Regions from separate parts of the Homo sapiens genome. Here region 2 is linked to region 1. The links are contacts of gene promoters, found by promoter capture Hi-C in human tissues and cell types (Jung and others, 2019). All regions are on one chromosome and are shown on one strand. The core of a region is centred on a gene start or on the middle of the fragment in contact, and the rest is flanking DNA. Distances in the headings are between cores, read along the strand shown.

Region 1 (4,070 bases), core at 1,171-3,670:
AGAAGGCTGAGGCAGGAGAATCGCTTGAACCTGGGAGGTGGAGGGTGCAGTGAGCCAAGATCGCAGCACTGCACTCCAGCCCTGGTGACAGAGACTCCGTCTCAAAATTAAAAAAAAAAAAAAAAAAAAAGACCTTAAGAAAACTTGCAATAATGTTTCTATCAAATACCTTACTATGCTATTTATTTAAGAAAAATGACCAAATCCAGTCCAATTTACAGATTTTAAAGCTGAAAGGGCATTGGAGATTGCCTAGTATGCTTTCCACATATCTAAGTGGAAACACACTCAGAGTGATTTATCAGAGTATACATAACATTACTGTACCACAACTGTGAATCTCAGTTCACGAGCTCAGACTTCTCTTTATGGAAAGTAGTTCACAGTATTTGAATCAATCCTGACACCACCTTTAGTTAAGGCAATGCAGACTGCAGTAAGGAGCTCCACTGTGGCAACCCCTATGCTGTTCCTGGTCTTGCAGACTGTCCTGTAACTTGAAGCTAGATGAGCAAACTTAGATTGTAAAGGCATGGTCTAGATCAGCAGTCTCCAACCTTAATGGCATCCAGGACTGGTTTCGTGGAAAACAATTTTTCCATGGACGGGGATGGGGGATGCTTTCAGGATGAAGCTGTTCCACCTCAGATCATCAGGCATTAGATTATCATAAGGAGCGCACAACCTAGATCCCTCGCACATGCAGTTCACATTACGGTTCGCACCATGAGAATCTAATGATGCTGCTGATCTGACAGGAGGCGGAACTTAGACGGAAATGCTCACTCACCCATCGCTCACCTCCTGCTGTGCGGCCCCGTTCCTAACAGGCTGCAAACCAGGTACCAGTCCGTCGTTGGGGACCCCTGGTCTAGATTACAGCTAAAGAACTACAAAGGCTTTCTCTTTATATGCCCTTCCTTCCTGCCCAAGACTTCTGGGCTTTTAACTAGGGATGCAGCACTGCAAGTATCCGGAGGCAGTAACTGGGAAAACCACCTATCATGATTAAAATAAAACACGCATTGGCCTCTGGAACGAAGGATGTTAAAATAATACATTCTGCCCACATCTTGGATTCAAGACTTGGGGAAGTTTTAGAAAAATCAGTTATCTCAAGTAAGTATTCAGTGCACACAATCCAGTGACTGAGTCTACTTTTTCTGGCTACTAAGGTACAGGCTAGGCCTAAGCAGCATAGGCTTTGAAACTATCATCCAGGTTTTCAAATAAAAAGGAGTAAGAAAACAACTGCTGGTAATACAACATTACAAACATTAACATATGCCCAACGAACAGTATCGTAGATCGTTAGATTATCTGCCAAAAGCCTGTTCCCTGGTAAATAACAGTTATTGTTGTTTTACCTAAACTAGTTAAACATGTCGCAGCTTGCTCCTGAAAGAGAACATTCTATAGTCTTTGGAGAATCAGTGAAGAGGTCTTGCAACATTTGTCAGAGGTAGTCAAACAGTGCAAGCAATCACAAAATTTGGTCACCAACCAAACCAGATTAGCTAATCTTTCAGTTCCTGTAGATTAGAAGACAATATTAACTCACCCTTTCTGCATGTTGACTTTTGCATCCCTTTATTTGTGTATTGAAAGAACAAGCACCTCTATGGGAACTCTATGCCCTGACAGTTTAATTACTTATCAAGTTTACTCTGGGCCGGTATTGATCATTCTTTCGTGAAACGAATTAGATACTTAAATTAAAAACAAACAACAAAACCCCCCTTTTCACATAGCATGGCGGCATGTCCCTTGGTAACAAGGTTGAGTGGATCCACCAAGGCCCAGTAGCTTGCCTCCTTTTCGTAAGGATGTAACTATTGTCCAACCAGAAGAGAGAGGCATGGAGTGGGATGTGCACCAGGATGAACTCGCCGGAATCGTCAAGAGTCGTTGTGTGACCCTCACCTTGACTTCGGGCGTTTTGTGGGGACCCAACTGCTTTCTTGCCGCTGCTCTTTGGTCTGAGTTTCCCTCAGCCAAACACTTCACCCACCCATGACCCTCCAACTGTCCCGCTACAGCAGGGGATGGGGGTTGTCTTCCGATCGACCTCGGGGGGCAAAGGCAAAAGTCCCTAGCTGCTTCGGAACCGCTCCTCGAGTCCTGAAGCCGCTCCACGCCTCCTCGCCCACCACTTGGTCCCCGCAGGACGTGGCAGTCTCGGGCTCCAGCCTGGAAAGGAGCCCGCCCGGGTGCCGTCACCCGCCCCGCGCGGCCTCACCTGCCGCTCCCCGGAAATCTCAGCGCTGCCCTGCCCCCGCCCCCACCCTCCCGCGTCCTCCAACTCGAGGTCCCAAGACCCACACAGCAATGGCGCAGCCGGAAACTGGGCCCTAGACTTACTCACGCCCGGCTGGCGGCTCGGGTCGCCTGTGGGCGGGACGCAAAGGCCGCGACTTCCGCCTTCCTGCTTCCGGTCTGGCGGTGAGTGGGGAGTGGGATCCGATCCCGTGGGGCTATGTAGGGGAAGTTGGTGGCTGCAGCTGCCGTGGTTTTCTCCTGGTGTCCAGCAGAAACGGCGGCGGCGCAAGGTGTGGCTGGGCCAACCCAGGATCTCCCAGGACCCTCCGCTCTGCGCGACAAGGGGCCCGCGCTTGCCAAGGCCGACGGGCAGGAGTGAACGTGGCCTCCGTGGGTCTGCAGCCCCGATAGGGTAAGGAGGGAAGAGTGAGCAAGGGAGAAACGTAAGGAATAAGGGAAAGACAAAGGAGGAAGTGCGGACGGCCGTCAAGTGCTACCCGTTGCAGCCGCAGGGGCCACGCGGGTCTGGTTGGGAGATCGAGCCTGGTCGATCCGTTTTGGGCGGAAGAGTAGGATTTATTCCTGAAAGTGTGGAGGCGCGAGCGTTTGGGTCCGAAGTTGAGTTGCAGGGAGATGTGTGGCCTGTGGACCATGGCTCTTTTACTGCAAAGTTCTTTTGCTTATTTCTGAAACTTACATTGTTTATTCGCTACTGGGCTGGAGAAGGTGAAGGCAGATCGATCTCAGTAGTACCTAATTCTAACTGTATGGGTGAGGTCGTATGAAGTCCAGGAGCTAAGATATTTAACGTATTAGGCACTTTCATGTGTGTTCAGTTGAAAATCGTGGGGAAGATATAATTAAAACTAGTCACAGTTTTCTTGGGGTAATGGGACTGTGGGTGAATTACTATAATTTGTTTGGTTATGTCTTCTAATTTTTTAAGTAAAGGACACAAATTGTATGATGGACCCAAAAAAACCTTTATAAAGAGTAAGATGAGCTGTTTGATTTTGTAGTGGTGTACCTAATCCAGTAAATAAATGAGTGGCAACATTTTTAGTATAAAAATTGAAAATCTAGGAACGGATACGCTGTGTAAGTCAGTCAGTGAGCCAACTTGTCTCCCGTATGTCAATGAACTAAAAAAATTTTATTATTGAAATAAGTAACTTAGTAAAATACTTGATTTCCAGTAATTAGGATTTTCTTACAGGGCATTTGCAATTGTAAATTCAAATGAGGAAGAAACGTATTAAGTTACTATACCGGATAGGCAATTTTAGATGTCATATAGGTTGCATATATACAATATAGAAATTTTCCATTTAAAATTTTATTACAATTATCCTGAAATTGTGACTTAAATTTTGTTTTATTTTTTGTATTCTTTCCAACTAGCCAATTGTACAGAATTTAAACCGTCTCTCAGATGTGTACAGTAGAACTCAAGAAGACAGACTACCAAGGGTCATCTGAAGTCGTGATTGGGTCACTAATAACACCAGGACAAAGTTAAGGGATCACTACTCAAGCATAAGGTAGATGATTTTTTTAAAAAAATTCCAGTTGAAATTGTAAGTGGATGTATATACACTCATTCCCTACCCAGGTATTCTAATTCTCCACTTTGAATAGCGGTTGACACAAACATGAAAGGGAGAAAAGCCTCTGGGGCAAAATAGAAAACGTCACTCAAGTCACATAATCCTCATTTGCCAGTTGCCTTTTCCTTACACTCAAAAAGGAACAAAACACATGGCATCTGTTAAGGCTACTTTCTCATTTATTAAATTAGGCTTATTCCAACA
Region 2 (4,553 bases), core at 1,818-4,317, 160 kb before region 1:
CCTGCCTCAGCCTCCCGAGTAGCTGGGACTACAGGCACCCGCCACCATGCCTGGCTAATTTTTTGTACTTTTAGTAGAGACAGGGCTTCACCATGTTAGCTAGGATGGTCTCGATCTCCTGATCTCAGGTGATCTGCCCGCCTCGGCCTCCCAAAGTGCTGGGATTACAGGCGTGAGCCACAGTGCCCAGCCAAGCCACTAATATCTTACCATTAGTATTTTGGGACAGTGGGCAAAGACACCATACTAGGTCCTTTACAAACAGTAACTCATTTAATGCCTCTTACACAAGAAACAAACGAAGAAACTGAGACTCAGAGAAATTTGCCAAAGGTTATTTGGCTGCTATCTGGCCACGCAAGGATTCAAGTTCTGTCGGTCTCACTCTAAAGCCAGAATTTTTTTCCATTATCCAGTATTTCCCAAACTTGTCAGGTCATAAGAATCACCCTGAGCACTTGTTAAAAATATACATTTCCTTTACCTCTCCCCTGGAGATTCTGATTCAGCAGGGCTGGGGTGGAGCTTGGAATCTATCTTTTTAACCCATGCCCTGGATAATTCTTCAGAATAGGCAAAATTGGGAAATATCATATTCCACACCACATTGTCACTCAGTAACCCACACTATTTCATTCCTTAAGATGTCCCCTTCTAAAATGTGCTGAATTATAAGAAAATATATTCAACCACTGATCAATCAACCAATCTTTTCCAACCTGCTTCTAAGAACAGTGTATTCTGTTTAGATGGAAGCCTTTAAAGTTACAAGCTGGAATTTTGAAAAATAAATTATTGCATCTCAATATATACCAAAAAACCAGGCTGGCAAAATTGCTTACAAATGAATTTGTTTTAAATGTTGTGATTTGGGCAATAATTCTACCCTCAAGAAGTAAAAGAGATTTGCTTTCATTAAATATTAAATAATTTGCGTGTGTCAATTTTCAGAAAAGAAAAACATTTTAGCGTATAGTCTCTATACCATTTAAATATTAGTAAAAGTTACCAGGCTATTATCATTCTGTTAGTTACTCCAATGCAAAGTGCAATGGTGAGGATCTTATTAAATGAAAACATCTTAAAACTGGAAGGTTCATCAGGCTTCAAAACAGGCTTAGAACCCAGTGATGGCCAAAAGAAATAGGAAATGCCACATTTCCTTATAACCTTAATATTTCCCCTTTTAAATAACTAACTTTTTATGAACTATTTTGTTAAGATTGTCACAGGATAAACAAAAGAATACTATTTAATCTATTTAATAGGATAATGTAAAGACATTTATTTCAGTATTTATTTACCTGTGTTAACTAGGAAAAAACTCCCACTTTTAAACACTAAAAAAGTGTTAGTATAGAGAATCATAATTTAGAAAATTAATGATTTTCTCAAAATTGCCTCACCCTACTAGGTCACTCTCTTGCAGATATCTCTGATAATGTGAGATGGTACAAGAAAAAGAGGTTTAAGACATATTCTCTAGGGAGACAAAAGGTGCTCTGACATGTATGAAGGATGTATTTACAGAAAGTAATGTCATTCCAAAATTCACTTTGTAAGGATATAGAATGAGCATTTTTCAAAGTGATCAAATAGTACTTTGTTCATTCTCATTCCTATTTGGAGGAAGTAAAGATGTAAAATCTAGACAGCCAGGTAACTTTAGGGGGCACCTTATGCCTAGATAAAGATTATTTGCATTTAAGATACATGAAAATTAAAATTTTAAACATGAAAGCCAAATTCTGAAACAAATTTATTAACGGCATTTTATCACCTACAGTATTTTTAAATATTCAAGAATTCACTCCCTGTCAAGAAAGGAATCATGACAATTCAGATGTGAAAAATGTCACTTCCAATGACTTTGTTCAAATCCAGAATTAGATAACTTGTGAAAATGAAGAGGTTTCAGTAAAAGCTGGTGTATCAGACATTTTTCAACGTGAAATCTATATTAACTCACACCCCCACGGAATCACGTTGCAATAAAACCATGGTTATGCAGAACTTTTGTGAAAACCACCCAGATTGGACAGGTTTCCCAAAGAGCTGAAGTTGTACTTTTTAAGGACCAAACATCTCTTTTTTTGAAACAGAGTTTTGTTCTTGTTGCCCAGGCTGGAGTGCAATGGAGCGATCTCGGCTTCCCACAACCTCCGCCTCTGGGGTCCAAGCGATTCTCCTGTCTCAGCCTCCCAGGTAGCTGGGATTACAGGCATGCGCCACCATTCCCGGCTAATTTTGTATTTTTAGTAGAGATGGGGTTTCCCCATGTTGGTCAGGCTGGTCTTCACCTCCCGACCTCAGGTGATCCGCCCGCTTTGGCCTCCCAGAGTGTTGGGATTACAGGCATGAGCCACTGCTCCTGGCCCAAAAATCTTTTTAAAAGCTTAACGGGGCTATGTGTGGTGGCTCACACCTGTAATCCCAGCACTCTGGGAGGCCGAGGCAGGCAGATCATTTGAGGCCCGGAGTTTGAGACCAGCCTGGCCAACATGGCAAAACCCTGTCTCTATTAAAAATACACAAAATTTGCTGGGCTTGGTGGCAAGCACCTGTAATCCCAGTTACTCCAGAGGCTGAGGCACAAGACGGCTTGAACCTGGGAGGCAGAGGTTGCGGTGAGCTGAGATCACGCCACTGCACTCCATTCTGGGTGACTGAGTGAGACTCTGTCTCAAAATAAAATAAAAATACAGGCTTAACCCTGCACACTAGAAATCTTTCTAAAACATGACACACTTCTTTGACTTCTTAAGCATATTATAAGGACTGATTATAAACACAATGATGCCCTTAAGAGCTACTAAGGTACGCAAGGTTGCTTGTTCATAACAAAAAACCCAGATTGCTGGCTTGGTTTTTCTTCTCTTTTTCTCTTTATTTCTTTTGCCCTTCCCTTCCCTCCCCACTTCCCTCCCCTCCCCTTCCCTTCTTTCCCCTTCTTTCCCTTCCCTTCTTTTCCCTCCATTTTTTATTTAGTTTGTTCTAGGTTTTGTTTTGGTTTGTTGGTCTCAGCCTTTACAGTTGTGCTATTTCCTGTTACTTTCACTTTTTTGTTGTTTATTTAGAGTCGATCTTGCTGTATTGCCGAGGCTGGACTCAAACTCCTGGGCTCAAGTGATTCTCCTGCCTCAGTCTCCTGAGTAGCTAAGACTACAGGCATGTACCTCCATGCCTAGCCCCTCTTACTGTTAATTATTGTCATATAACCACCCATAATGTCGCTTCTCACTTTCTGAATTATTGCTCTCCCCATGTTGTAGCCTCTGAACCCGGAGAACCTTATTTCTACAATTATGTGTAAAGTAAAATCAGCGAAGTTCTTAATGAGAATCTCCCACCTGGTTAAAATGTACACGATCTTTGTCACATTTATTTTGCCTCTTGCAGACTTCCTAGATTCCAGCTAGGTCCCAGAAAATGGAGAAGTTATTAGATGACCAAACTCTGGCTTCTGAGGGGTTAATATAGGATGATAATTGACATTTGTGATGATGAGTCCAAGATGCCTACTGAATCATCATGTGTAAAATAATATTTACTGAACATGATTTAGGTTTAAAGCATTTAATGAAATTATAACCTTTGGAACTTGGTGGTTCACTTCTGAAATCTATGGCAATGTTTTGACAGATTTCAGATGAAACAAAATCTGCATTCCCAGGTCACACACAAGGACTGTATGCCATGCACTCCTATGACAGCTTGAGTTCACCCTGGAGAGGGGAGGGTTAGAAACCAAATCCTTAACAAGCCTGCCCTGCAAGACTCAAGACTGTGCATTAGGAATGACCTGGTCCCTGCCCACCTCTCCAAATGGCCTTACCCCAAGTTCATTCCCTTTGCTCTCTGGAGCTCTGCCAACACAGGCTACTCAGGCCTACTTTCAATTCCTTTAACACTCACTTCCTCCAGAGGCCTTTGCCCAAGAGTTCCTGCTCCCTGGAATGTTCTCCTTCCCCAGGCCCCACAACCACTGCCTAGTTTCCTCCTGCTCGGCTTAATCACACTTCCTTAGGAAAGCCTGGCCGCCCTGACAGGTCAGTTCTGTCTATTACACACTCTAGTAGTTACGTGTACTTCTCCTAGGGGCTCTTATCTGAGTTGTAATTTTTCATTTAGTTGTATGTAGGACACATTACCTGGAGAATAGTAGGTGCTCAATAAATATTTGTTCACTGCATGGAAGGGAGGGAGCAAGGGCACTTCAGCCAGACTGGCCTCCTCATTGTGGTTAACATCAAGGTGTGCCAGGAGAGCAATTTCCAACAGCTTAACATTCACTTGATTGCTGCCAAGGCCCATGGGTCTTTCCTTTCCTTTCTAGAAAAGAGTAAAATCTACTCGATGAACATTCAGCAGCATGGTGTGAAGCTATTATGGCCACATTCTGGAAATCATTGCATTCTTCCAAGCAAAGAAATAAGAAAATCTTCCCAAACAAATGTCAGAAACTTTACCACACTGTCATACATGCTGCCTGTAACATTTGTCTTTTGTTAATTTTTTTTTTCTGGCTTTCATCTCAAGTGTCTCTCAAGTTT

Evidence for each region. Contacts are between HindIII fragments. The study calls those that stand out against the background at their distance.
Region 2: a fragment that was not itself captured here is called in contact with the fragment with the promoter of SMIM15 in region 1 in 1 of the 25 tissues and cell types used here (mesenchymal stem cells).

The regions. Positions count from the first base shown.
Region 1 is chr5:61,160,818-61,164,887 of GRCh38, reverse strand. SMIM15 (small integral membrane protein 15) reads left to right here and starts at 2,420. Exons shown (of 3, transcript NM_001048249.4): 1 at 2,420-2,671; 2 at 3,661-3,800. It overlaps SMIM15-AS1 (SMIM15 antisense RNA 1), which reads right to left and starts at 2,572. Exons shown (of 4, transcript NR_109908.1): 1 at 2,362-2,572. RefSeq lists enhancers at 1,732-1,791, 1,832-1,931, 2,462-2,721, 2,792-2,871, 2,357-3,253 and a silencer at 2,172-2,281. The HindIII fragment of the contact is 13,088 bases long and covers 1-4,070 here.
Region 2 is chr5:61,322,592-61,327,144 of GRCh38, reverse strand. All of the region lies in intron 1 of LOC105378994 (a long non-coding RNA gene), which reads left to right. Among named protein-coding and RNA genes, the nearest start is that of ZSWIM6, 7.4 kb to the left of the region's middle. The HindIII fragment of the contact is 5,952 bases long and covers 92-4,553 here.